3 separate regions of the Homo sapiens genome follow, and regions 2 and 3 are each linked to region 1. Evidence: promoter capture Hi-C in 16 types of primary human blood cells and fetal thymus (Javierre and others, 2016). All regions are on one chromosome and are shown on one strand. Each heading gives the region's core, a stretch centred on a gene start or on the middle of the fragment in contact. The rest is flanking DNA. Distances are from core to core; before and after follow the strand shown.

The links. The method cuts DNA at HindIII sites, captures the fragments that hold promoters and counts their contacts. A CHiCAGO score of 5 or more calls a contact.
Region 2: a fragment that was not itself captured here is called in contact with the fragment with the promoter of TRAPPC3 in region 1 in 10 of 17 cell types (neutrophils, naive B cells, activated CD4 T cells and 7 more); the score reaches 9.8 in neutrophils.
Region 3: a contact is called between a fragment that was not itself captured here and the fragment with the promoter of TRAPPC3 in region 1, in 6 of 17 cell types (neutrophils, naive B cells, activated CD4 T cells and 3 more). The highest score is 8.7, in neutrophils.

Annotation. Positions count from the first base shown.
Region 1 is chr1:36,147,218-36,151,075 of GRCh38, reverse strand. It overlaps TRAPPC3 (trafficking protein particle complex subunit 3), which reads left to right and starts at 1,590. Exons shown (of 5, transcript NM_014408.5): 1 at 1,590-1,739. The coding sequence starts at 1,698. RefSeq lists enhancers at 1,037-1,696, 1,827-1,906, 1,260-1,920. The HindIII fragment of the contact is 15,390 bases long and covers 1-3,720 here.
Region 2 is chr1:36,459,484-36,463,341 of GRCh38, reverse strand. It overlaps MRPS15 (mitochondrial ribosomal protein S15), which reads left to right. Exons shown (of 8, transcript NM_031280.4): 3 at 1,179-1,254; 4 at 2,030-2,078; 5 at 2,566-2,650. Among named protein-coding and RNA genes, the nearest start is that of MRPS15, 3.0 kb to the left of the region's middle. The HindIII fragment of the contact is 974 bases long and covers 1,360-2,333 here.
Region 3 is chr1:36,441,008-36,444,865 of GRCh38, reverse strand. All of the region lies in intron 1 of OSCP1 (organic solute carrier partner 1), which reads left to right. It overlaps LOC107984940 (a long non-coding RNA gene), which reads right to left. Exons shown (of 3, transcript XR_001737976.2): 2 at 133-265. Among named protein-coding and RNA genes, the nearest start is that of OSCP1, 7.5 kb to the left of the region's middle. The HindIII fragment of the contact is 1,167 bases long and covers 1,383-2,549 here.

The DNA.
Region 1 (3,858 bases), core at 341-2,840:
GCTGTTGGACAGGCAGGGAAAGGCTCCACCTCCACTCTCTCTAGAACCGCCCTGCTTGACAGCAGGCAGGGTGGGGTTGGGTGGCTGGCTGTGAGTGTGACTCAGGTTTCTGTGGGCAGCCAAGGGCAGCCGGCAGGGAGGAGCCCAGACCGACAGACCGGCTGGCCAACTGCAGCTTTCACCTCAGCTGTCCTCTGTCCTGGGAATGCAGAGGGCTCTTGTCTAGCTGAGCTGGCCCTTGGGGGCTAGTTGACTCCTGCTTTCCTCCCCCAACCCCAACCAACCCTCAAGTTCCTTCCCAGAGCCCTCGGCCCTTGGCTCCCTCCCCTGTGGCATTACACAGGATGGAGAGTGAGGGGTCACTGCCTCTAGGGAGGAAACAGAATGTCTGGGGAAAAGGGTATAATAATGATTGGTCCTGCACCCTGAGGGAGGGACTGGGGGAACCCTGGGCACCAGCTTGCAGCCTCAGCGGCCCCCCAGCCCTCCCTAGCCTGGCTGGCTCGTGTCTGGACAGGCTGGTTGTCATGGTGAGGGCTAGGGGCCAGAATGCAGCTGCTACAGTCAGGCTACCAGGCCTAAGTGAACAGAGAGTGCTCAGGGACCCCCCAGCCCAGCTTCCTCAGAGTTGACCAGCTGAGAGACCGCGGGAGCTGAAACCAAAGAGCTGTGGTCAGGGACTATAGACTTCCCCTTGGTGATGGGTGAGAGTTCAGCCAGCACATTCCCTTCGTGTTTCTGGTGCCTGTTTGTTGGCTTGTTTTTGGAGGGTGGCTGGAAGGGAATACACGTTTCTTTTATGCCTTTTATGCGCCCAAGTGCTGGGCATGCGTGGCTCACCAGTCTTTACAACAACTGAGAGAGATTTAGCAACTTGCCTAAAATGGCAAAGCTGGGATTAGAACTCAGAACTGACGGCCACGACAGTTAGTGATCTTTGTTTTCTGGGAACCAGGCAGTGTAGCTGTTCTAGGGGGAGGGAGGGGGAGAAAGTGACTTGAACTTTACCTAAAAGACTGGATATTCCATCACGAGGCCACAGGTGGTAGAAGGCAGGTGCTGGCATCATTTGGGGTTTGGCAGTCTGAAGAGAAAGACACTAGCGAAATGCTTGGCACATAGTAGGTCATTAAATATTTTTCTAATGAAGAAGCCAATTCTGTGTGAGTCATTGCTAGTTTTCTGGGACATCTTGGGAGCTTCTGGAGCTGAATCGCAACAGCGGAAGACGCTAGCTCGAAAGAGGGACTTTCCAAGACCAACCCCGGCGAGAGAGGAATTTGTGGAGCATCATCTCTGAGCCGGGCGCGGGGGGAGGGGGACAAGGAGGAAGCGTGTGTGTGACCCAGGATTACCGAAGGCTGCGGACGCCACCCAGCGGCCAGGATGCTGCCCAGCGCAAGCTGGGCTCTACCAGGCAGGCGCGCGCGGAGCACTCCGGGAGTTGTAGTTGACTGTGTTAAGAGGCGGTGCTGCCAAAGGGGCTGTTGGGTGTTGTAGTCTGACGTTTGTTGGGCGGGAGTTGCCCACGTCGGCCGGACCACTAGTCCCGTGGTGCCCCGCGGGAGGCCGCGCAGGCGCAGTGAGTCAGTGCCGGTCGGTCTTGTGGGCTGAGGGGCAGCGGCTTAGGCTCCGGCGTCTGCAGGGGTCGCCGAGCTAACCCGTGGCTAGGCGAGTGGGGCGGGGCGGCCGGCACCATGTCGAGGCAGGCGAACCGTGGCACCGAGAGCAAGAAAATGGTAACTTGGAGCGCGTGACCTCGGCGGGCGGGGCGAAATTGAGGCGTACAGGGAAGGGGCCCGGCGCCGAGCGCGAGGTGCGTTTGGAAAAGGGCCTTCCTGTGAGCTCTGGCAAGGGGAAGCCTCTTGCTGGGTCACTCCGGGGGCGTTCCAGGCAGGTGAGGGGACCGTCGGAGAAGTTCCCCGGAGGAGACCCCGCCCCCAAGGCCTGAGTGCAGCTCTGTGCTAAGCCAACAACAACGACGGTAATAAATACCAATAACTGCCACTTAACTTCTCTCTTACTATGTGTTGGGCACCGGGCCACGCACGTTACAGCATCTCAGTTAATCTGCAGAGTAGCCCCTATCAGATGGATAACATTGCCGTTTTACAGCTTGGAGAGCTTACGTAATTTGCCCATATTTACACCTGGGAAGTTAGGATTTGGACCCGTGTTTAACTCCAAAGCTAATGCTAGGAGCTGACTGTTAGGCTTTACTCTTAGGCTACAGTGTCTCGTACTGTGGCGTGGGTATTGTGAGAGATGTTCAGATACTGGTCGTGCCAGAAAGGAACGTTTTATTCAATGGAATAAGAGATGGGCCAGAGTAAGCAGTGAGTGGTGCCCCTCTAATGGAGTGGGTGGCTCCCTTCTTTCCCAGGGAATAGTTTGGACACCATATGGTCCTATAAAGTTGGACTAGGGGCTGGGGCTGCAGACTTAGGTCATTTTTCTTTCGTTCTTCCCTCCCTCCCCCCGCCCCCAGACGAAATCTCTGTCACCCGGGGTGGAGTGCAGTGGCACTAACTTGGCTCACTGCAACCTCTGCCTCCCAGGTTCAAGCAGTTCTTCTGCCTCAGCCTCCCGAGTAGCTGGGATTACAGGTGTCCACCACCACGCCTGGCTGATTTTTGTATTTTTAGTAGAGATGGGGTTTCACCATGTTGGCCAGGCTGGTCTCGAACTCCTGACCTCAGGTGATCCGCCTGTCTCGGCCTCCCAAAGTGCTGGGATTACAGGCGTGAGCCACTGCGCCTGACCAATTTTTGTATTTTTAGTAGAGACGGGGTTTCACCATGTTGGCCAGCCTGGTCTCGAACTCGTGGCCTTAAGTGATCTGCCTGTTCAGGCTCCCAAAGTGCTGGGATTACAGGGGTGAGCCACCACACCCGGCCAAAAGACGAGAATATTTTGTTAGGAAACAATGTCAGGTAAGGGGAAACACATGGACCTTGGTTGGAATTCTGACTTACTTGATTGATCTTCAATTTCTTTATCTATAAAATGGGGATAGTAATGTCTACCTAATATTAAATGGGATGGTGTAAAATGTGAGGGGCATGGTAAATGTTTCTTTCTCCTTTTCCTATGAGATGAGTAGAGGTCTTCCTGGTTAGTTTTTGTACTTTGCTCTCATTTTATCCATTTTTTAAGCCTGAAATCAATATTGAAATCTTTAACAAAAATCTGCAGACTCTACCCCCAGCCCCCAGTATTCTTCGTTTCAGTGAAGTAAGGTAATTAGGGAGGGGCAGCAGCATACTCCTGCCCTCAAGGCTCTTGGAACTCCCTTCTTCTAGATAGTCACTTAGCCCACTCCTGCCTTCATTCATAGTTACTCAAATGTCACCTCCTTTGAGAGGCCTTCCCTCCTGATTACCTGCCTAATTCTCTAACCTCTAACTCTATGCTGGTTGTCTTCATAGCACTGTCTATTTAATTTTAAATGATATACCCAGGCTGGAGTGTAGTGGCATGATTGAGGCTCATCCAGCCTGACCTCCCGAGTTCAAGCAGTCCTCCCGCCTCAGCCTCCCAAGTAGCTGGTACTATAGGTGTGCACCACCATGCCTGGCTAATTTTTTTTTTTTTTTGTAGAGCTAGGGGTCTCCCTGTGTTGCCCAGGTTGGTCTCGAGGTCTCGAACTCCTGGGCTCAAGCAGTCCCTCCAACTCTGCTTCACAAATTACTGGGATTGCATCTGTGTTCCATTTAAGCTTGCCAAGACCTAAATTGTTTTGTTTTGTGTTTTGAGACAGAGTCTCGCTCTGTCACCTAGGCTGGAGTGCAGTGGCCCGATCTCAGCTCACTGCAGCCTCCACCTCCCAGGTTCAAAAGATTCTCCTGCCTCAGCCTC
Region 2 (3,858 bases), core at 597-3,096, 310 kb before region 1:
TAATACACGAAAAGCACCCTTAACGCTGTGCTCAATTAAATATATTGATAGTATATATTAGAATTTATTATCTGGGGCCGGACGCGGTGGCTTACGCCTGTAATCCCAACACTTTGGGAGGCCAAGGTGGGCAGATCACTTGAGTTCAGGAGTTCGAGACCAGCCTGGCCAACATGGTGAAACCTCGTCTCTACTAAAAATACAGAAAAAAATTAGCCAGGTGTGGTAGCGCGCGCCTGTAATCCCAGCTACTCAGGAGGCTGAGGCAGGAGAATCGCTTGAACCTGGGAGGTGGAGGTTGCAGTGAGCCGATCGTGCCACTGCACTCCAGCCTGGGTGACAGAGCGAGACTCCATCTCAAAAAAACAAAAAAGAAAGAAATTATTGGCTGGACATGGCCCCAACATTTTGGGAGGCCAAGGCTGGAGGATCACTTGAGGCCAGGAGTTCAAGACCAGCCTGGGCAACATAGCAAGACCCAGTCTCTACAAAAAATAAAATAAGTAGAATTTATTGCTATTAATATATTTTTAATATAATTCTTTTCTGCCTCCCTATCAGAATCAACTTGAGCTGTTACAGACAGAAGAGGCCCATTAATGTTATTTGCATAGCAGGGTCTGACTGGAGAGGATAAGTCCATCTACTCTATGCCTCTTCCTCATCTCCAAGGGATAGCAGGGGTGCACACACCAAGACTGAGGTTTTCCTGTGATCTCTACTTGGTGCTTACATTTCAGGCATCGTACAGCTAGCTGCCTTTCCTCAACCCCCTTAATTCATACATGCAGTCAGCCAGCAAGTGTTTGTTGAGTGCCTAGTCTAGGCTGAGCCATGGGCCAGACTATGGTGGATTCCAAGGGAGTCAAACTCTGTCCTATCCACAGGAGGACCCATCCTAGTGGGGGATCTGAGAACTGTAGAGCCAGATAGGTGTGTGAAAGGTGCAGGCACAGTGTAGGGTCTTGGGAAAAGCCACCTACTCGCAACATGAAATATCAAAGCAGGTGCCCACGGAGTTTGCAAAGGAGAAACTGAGCCGAGAGATATCCAGTGCTTTGCTTGAGACCCTGAATGTCCCTTCTGGAGTTGGAGAGTGGGTGAAAAGAGCCAGGTCTGGGAGGGTGGGCAGCGAGAGTTGACTCTGGGTGTTTTCTATCCCCATATTTACTTGACAGCCCAGTCTAGGCTGGATGATGACCCACCTCCCTCTACGCTGCTCAAAGACTACCAGAATGTCCCTGGAATTGAGAAGTAAGCAGGAAGAAACCTAGTAGAGGAGGCAGGGGGCCCTGGGAGGATTGTCGGGGAGTGGGGAAAGACAGTGGCTTTGAGACTTGGCTTGCTGTAGCTGAAGCTTGATCTAGAAGGAGGCAGGGGCCCAGGTGTCCAGGTGTGGTGAGGGTGGGTGGTCAGCAAGGCAGATGGCACTCATGGAGCTCGGCTACTTGGGGGTTTTTTTGTACTCTAGATGAACACCCTGTACCACTAGATTCCAAGGAGCTAACATACTTCACAGGTCTTTGTAGAAATCTCTCATCTCTTGTTCCTCACAAAAGCTGTATGTCCCCATTTTATAGATTTTCAAGCTGTCCAGTGTCATACAGTTCTAAAGGGCAGAGCTAGAGTTTGAATCCAGGGCTGACTGACACCAAAGCCAGAGGCCCTCTGCTCAGCTCCTATGCAGTGTGGTGGGAGCTGGTCAGTCCCTCCCACTGTGCAATTTAACTTGAAATGTCTCAAAACAGATTGAACCATGTTGTAGCTAAAATGGAAATCCTCTCCTTGCCCTCCCTGTGATGAGACCGGAACAGTCGAGCTGACAGCCCCAGTTTCTGTAGTTTCAGCCCAGCAAGCCAGATCCACACTGACTTTTAATCCCTGGGAAATGGCTCCCCACCTCCAGGGAGATTCATTTGCTACAGAAGGAATTTTTCAATCATCTTTGCTTTTCAAACTAAAATGAAACCAGCATTGCTTTCCTCTCTTCTCCCCCAATGTCTGTCTCATTGCTGTGGTTTATCCACAGGGTTGATGATGTCGTGAAAAGACTCTTGTCTTTGGAAATGGCCAACAAGGTGAGCAGCCTCTGCCAAGCCTCAGCCTCCCGCAGTCTTCTCCTCTGGGACTCCCTTCTACCCTGATTAGCACCCCGCATCTCATGCTTCTCCAGTCACAGCACTTAGCCCACTGTCATTCTGCCTCCATTTGTCAATATCCCTAGACAGAGCATCTTCAGGGCAGGGACACTTTTGTTCCCCCACCATACCCCTAGCACCTGACAAACAGGTGCTCAGTGAATGAATGAATGAGCATAAATGAATGAGCAAGCTTTGGGGACATTCATGCAACAAGTCATTTCCTCTGTCAGTGGCTTTGGCTTTGGGCTCACCTGGATGTGGATAGCCATGTGGTTGGTCAAGGCCACAGTGAGCAGAGTGAAGTCAGGCCCTGAGCCTTATGGCCCTAGTTGCTATAACTGTAGCCAGGGCCCTTGGGGGGAGGAGGGCTAGTTCTTAGAGGGTGGCAGACTCCACAGATTTTCTCTGTCTCTGTCTTCAACAGAAGGAGATGCTAAAAATCAAGCAAGAACAGTTTATGAAGAAGATTGTTGCAAACCCAGAGGACACCAGATCCCTGGAGGCTCGAAGTTGGTCGGGGACCCTTGGGGAGTGGGGGTGTAGGGAAGCCTGCTAGCTGGGACCTGATCTAGGGCTCTTGTCTACAAGCACATGCACATGGGCTGGGGAAAGGGAGAGACATGAAGGACCTAGGGCAATGAAAATTGGACCCTGTATCCCAAGCTCTGATGCTGGAGTCAACACCCAGTTGGACCTTGTACCACTGTGTGAGCTTGGGTAAGTCACCAACCCTCTCTTGGAGCCCCTGCTTCCTCATCTGGAAATGGGGGAATAAGGGAGAGCAGAGCAGAGGTAATGTTACCCACCTCATGGCAGCATTGTGAGAGGCAGCTAGGGGATGTAAACACACCTTGGAAACTAAAGCTCACGATGTGTGATAATAATAGTAAGACTAGGCCAGGCGCGGTGGCTCACGCCTGTAATCCCAGCACTTTGGGAGGCCAAGCAGGTGGATCACAAGGTCAGGAGATCAAGACCATCCTGGCTAACACGGTGAAACCCCGTCTCTACTAAAAATACAAAAAATTAGCCGGGCATGGTGGCGGGCGCCTGTAGTCCTAGCTACTGGGGCTGAGGCAGGAGAATGGCGTGAACCTGGGAGGCGGAGCTTGCAGTGAGCCGAGATCGCGCCACTGCACTCTCGCCTGGGCAACAGAGCGAGACTCCGTCTCGAAAATAAAAAAATAAGACCAACATTTTGAACCCTCTTGTGCCAGACAGACACCATGGTGCATTCCCAAGGGAATAATGTTGCTACTTTGGTTCAGGCTAGAACTGGCAGTAGTCCTCATTAGATGTGAGTGAAAAGCACCACCATTTCCCCCTCTCTCTGGGTGCAGTTTCTCTTCATTGCCCACTGAGAGCAAGTGAGGTAGACTAGTGGACCTGCAGAGGATCTGCACACTTTCTCTCCTTTGCCATTGGCCTATATTATAGCCTCCTCCTCCTCTTCCACCCTCCTGCCTTCATTCTTCTCCCTTCATTCTTTTCTTCTCCCTCTGCCAGGGATTAAAGTCTGGTGAGTTCATCTTGGATACTAAAACCCCATTGAGAACTGGACTCAAGGGTCCTCCATAGCCTCTTTTGAGAAGATGAGTTTCAGCTTCCCTTGCCCTGCTAAAGCCCTGGGCTAGGGACCAGCTCAGCCACAAAAGGCCTGCTTATCTTTCCTCACCTGTTTCTGCATTATCACTACTGAAATCCCCAGGTTGGCAGG
Region 3 (3,858 bases), core at 717-3,216, 290 kb before region 1:
ACAATAGGCCTGTAAGATAGGTGCTATTATGATCCCTATTTTACGAAGGAAACTGAGGTTAAACAAGTTGCTTGAAGTTTATATAGCCAGTAAGTAGAGCCAGGTTTCAACCCATAGAGTCTTGATTCTCACCGATTTCTCTAGCCAACTGCATTTTTCCTTATTTGGTCTCCTCTTGGGATCTCCCCAGCTGCCTTTGTCCTCAGAAGCTTTCTTCATAGTGGTCCCATCATTATTCGCTTCTTTTTACATGGAAATCATGCATCTATATATATAAAAAGTAAAACAGAAACAAATGCTGACATTTTCCTTTTAATTCACATTTCAAGTTTTCTAATTTGAGCAGTTCCATCTGTCCTCTAGAAAGGGAAATCTTACATTAATAAAAAAAAAAGAAAAGAAAAGAAAACTCAGATTGTATACAAAGAAACTCTTTTCTCTGCCTGTTCTTGGAATTATTCTTCCTCATGGAGGCTAGCGTCTTTAAAAGCCTACTACTGAATGATATGTATTCTTGTAGCATTAGAGAGCGGGGCTTCTTGGGCCTTTCAAGATGAACCACAGGATAGCTAATCCTCCTCAGTTTACTCTCTTCTTAGGCCAGTCTCTGTAAGACATAGCCTTTCTTGAGCTTTTTTGAAATATGTTGTTTATCCATCATCCTTTTAAAGGTTTCAAATAGAAGGCAGTGTGCTCACATTAGACATTAAATGCCAACGTGAAAAGTAAAGTTTCATAGATAAGATCATTGGAATTGGTATGTTTAAAGCCTCCTTGAAAATAATGTTCTTGCTTCATGAACTGGTGTTTTCTTTTTGTATGCTTCATGTAGATGAATGGACAGAGGTGGACAGAAAACGAGGTATGCTATCTCCGGGCTGCATGTGTTCAGTGTGCATCCACAGGTTCACTCAGGCCTTTATCAGCAGGGCTTAAAATGGGACCGCTTGAAACATTTCAAAGTCAAAGTAAGAAAATAGGCATGAGTTTGTCTTTAGCTGAGATATTGGTTATACATTTGAATCTTTTACTTAAGAGGAAGAAATACAGCATGTTAAGATGAAAACTAAGCAAACTCTGACCAAAAAGCCACACTGTACTTGAGGGATATGTCTCCTTTTCTCAGTTCCAAGCTTTGCTGGGACAGCTGGGGCAATAGCCATACTTTGGGGTATGTCATCCTATTTGGTAGTCCTTAAAACAACTTTGTTTTGTCATGTAACCAAAGAATTGTGCTTCAACATGAGTGACCCTCCCTGAGCCATTCTCCTAAGCTCACAGAGCAACCGAGAAAAATTGAAGCATGTAACTGCATGGCTGCCAGGACTGTGGGCAGAAGGCATGACATCATGCATGCAGTGTGGCCTCATCATGCAAAAGCTTCAGTTTCCCCTTACCTACTGCAAGCAGGAAACCTGAAAAAGTTGTCGACTCCTCAGAATAAAGCCTTAGACTTTCTCAGCCTTTAAATAAATCTCAGATACCTTCTGTCATTTGACATTTGGGTGTGGTGTGTGCCTATCATCAGCCATCCTCCTCAATATTTTAAATGCTCTCACCACACCAAGTATGCTGGGAAGACAACCTGTATAATATTTAAGAGGCCAGGTGCAGTGGCTCACACCTGTAATCCCAGCACTTTGGGAATCTGAGGCAGGAGGATCACTTGAGGTCAGGAGTTCGAGGCCAGCCTGGCCAACATGGTGAAACCCTGTCTCTACTAAAAATACAAAAATTACCTGGGCATGGTGGTGGGCACTTATAATCCCAGCTACTTGGGAGACTGAGGCAGGAGAATCACTTGAACCTGGGAGGCAGAGGTTGCAGTGAGCCGAGATCTTGCCACTGCACTCCAGCCTGGGCGACAGAGCGAGACTCCACTTCAAAAATAATAATAATAATAATAATATTTAAAAGCACAGGCATTAAATCAAACAGACCTAATTCTAATTTCAGCTCCATCACCAGCTGTGTGACCTTGGACTTTAAACTCTCTGATTCAGTTTTCCTCCTTAATAGAATGAGGATAATATAAAACGATAAGTGGTCTGGCAGGAAAAAAAAATGAGGATAATAATTCAGAGTTGTCTTGGAGTTTAAATGAGATAATGCATATAAAGTTCTAAGCCCAGTGCCTGGGACATAGAAAGGATTGAAACATGGTAACTATTCAGGAGGGTTTCCTAGCCTCTCTCTAAATTCTTGGCTCCAAATTTCATATTCCCATAAACAAGTCAATTTAGAGCAGAGGTAATTGGTAAAAACTTGATTGCTTTCATCAAGATAATTATTTCATCAGACCAGTCTCGAAAAAAAGCCCAATTGAAGTACTTGGTACACTTTATTACATTTCACAACCATCGTTTGACACTTCTTGAGCAATTTTTGACCCGTCCCTCCCTTGATGCATAGCAGAATTTCAGGTATGAAGTGTGGATTTTGAGAGCTTTTCATATACATAATTGAATCATTGAAATTTATTTTAACATAAATGTTCAAAAATAATGAACAGAAACTGGCTTCATAATCTGAACCCAGGACTAGAAGCTTGCTATGTTGAGAACCCAATTACCAACTTTCTGAGGCTCCTGTGAAAAATCCCTTCCCTCCCCTGCCTTAGCCTCCTTTTTTTTTTTTTTGAGACGGAGTTTCGCTCTTGTTGCCCAGGCTGGAGTGCAATGGAGCGATCCCAGCTCACTACAACCTCCGCTCCCAGGTTCAAGCAATTCTCCTGCCTCAGCCTCCTGAGTAGCTGAGATTACAGGCATGAGCCACCACGCCTGGCTAATTTTGTATTTTTAGTAGAGATGGGGTTTCTCCATGTTGGTCAGGCTGGTCTTGAACTCCCGACCTCAGGTGATCCACCCACCTCGGCCTCCCAAACTGCTGGGATTACAGGCGTGAGCCACTGCGCCCGGCCCCCCTTAGCCTCTTCCTATTGAAATCCGGCTCCTAGTATATTCCGGCCTCGTGAAAAGTATGCAGAACTCATTTGCATGCCAAAAACCAACACTTAGACTAATGGGCGGGTCTGATTAAAACTATTTCTTCAGGGATGTTAGGATGAAGGGAAAAAAATAAAAAACAAATTACTTTTTTTTTTTTTTTTTTTTTTGAGCTGGAGTCTCGCTCTGTTACCCAGGCTGGAGTTCAGTGGCGCGATCTCGGTTCACCGCAAGCTCCGCCTCCCGGGTTCACGCCATTCTCCTGCCTCAGCCTCCCGGTAGCTGGGACTGCAGGCGCCCGCCATCACGCCCGGCTAATTTTTTGTATTTTTTTTTAGTGGAGACGGGGTTTCACAGCGTTAGCCAGGATGGTCTCGATCTCCTGACTTCGTGATCCGCCCGCCTCGGCCTCCCAAAGTGCTGGGATTACAGGCGTGAGCCACCGCGCCCGTACGCTAATTAAATTTTTTAAAAAAACTATTTCTCAGGTTTAACCTAAAGATGATGTGCTGCTTCTCTAGGGCCAGGATAACATCTCCTTCCTCTTTGTGCCTGTGGTGTTTATTTCACTGTCTGGTACCTAATAGGTCTGCCTCAACCAAGGGCTGGGTGAAGCAAATTGTAAGACAAAAACATGTTAACGTGTGCCTCCATCTTATTTCCAAAGAGTGAAACGAGAAGAGGGAGCCCTAGGTGTCGTGGCCCAACCATTAAACTGCCATTTCCTCTTTGGGGGCATTTGTACTCACTGCTCTGCCCACAAGGACAGACCCCGCCGTCCTCTTCCCAGCAGGTGAACTGTCTGGATGCTGGCGCCAGGAGCCATGGTGCTCCAGAGCTTCTTCACTTCCCACGGGGAAAGACTTCATTTTGCTTTTCACTTTGCCCGAGTAGCTAACAATCACCTTGGGGT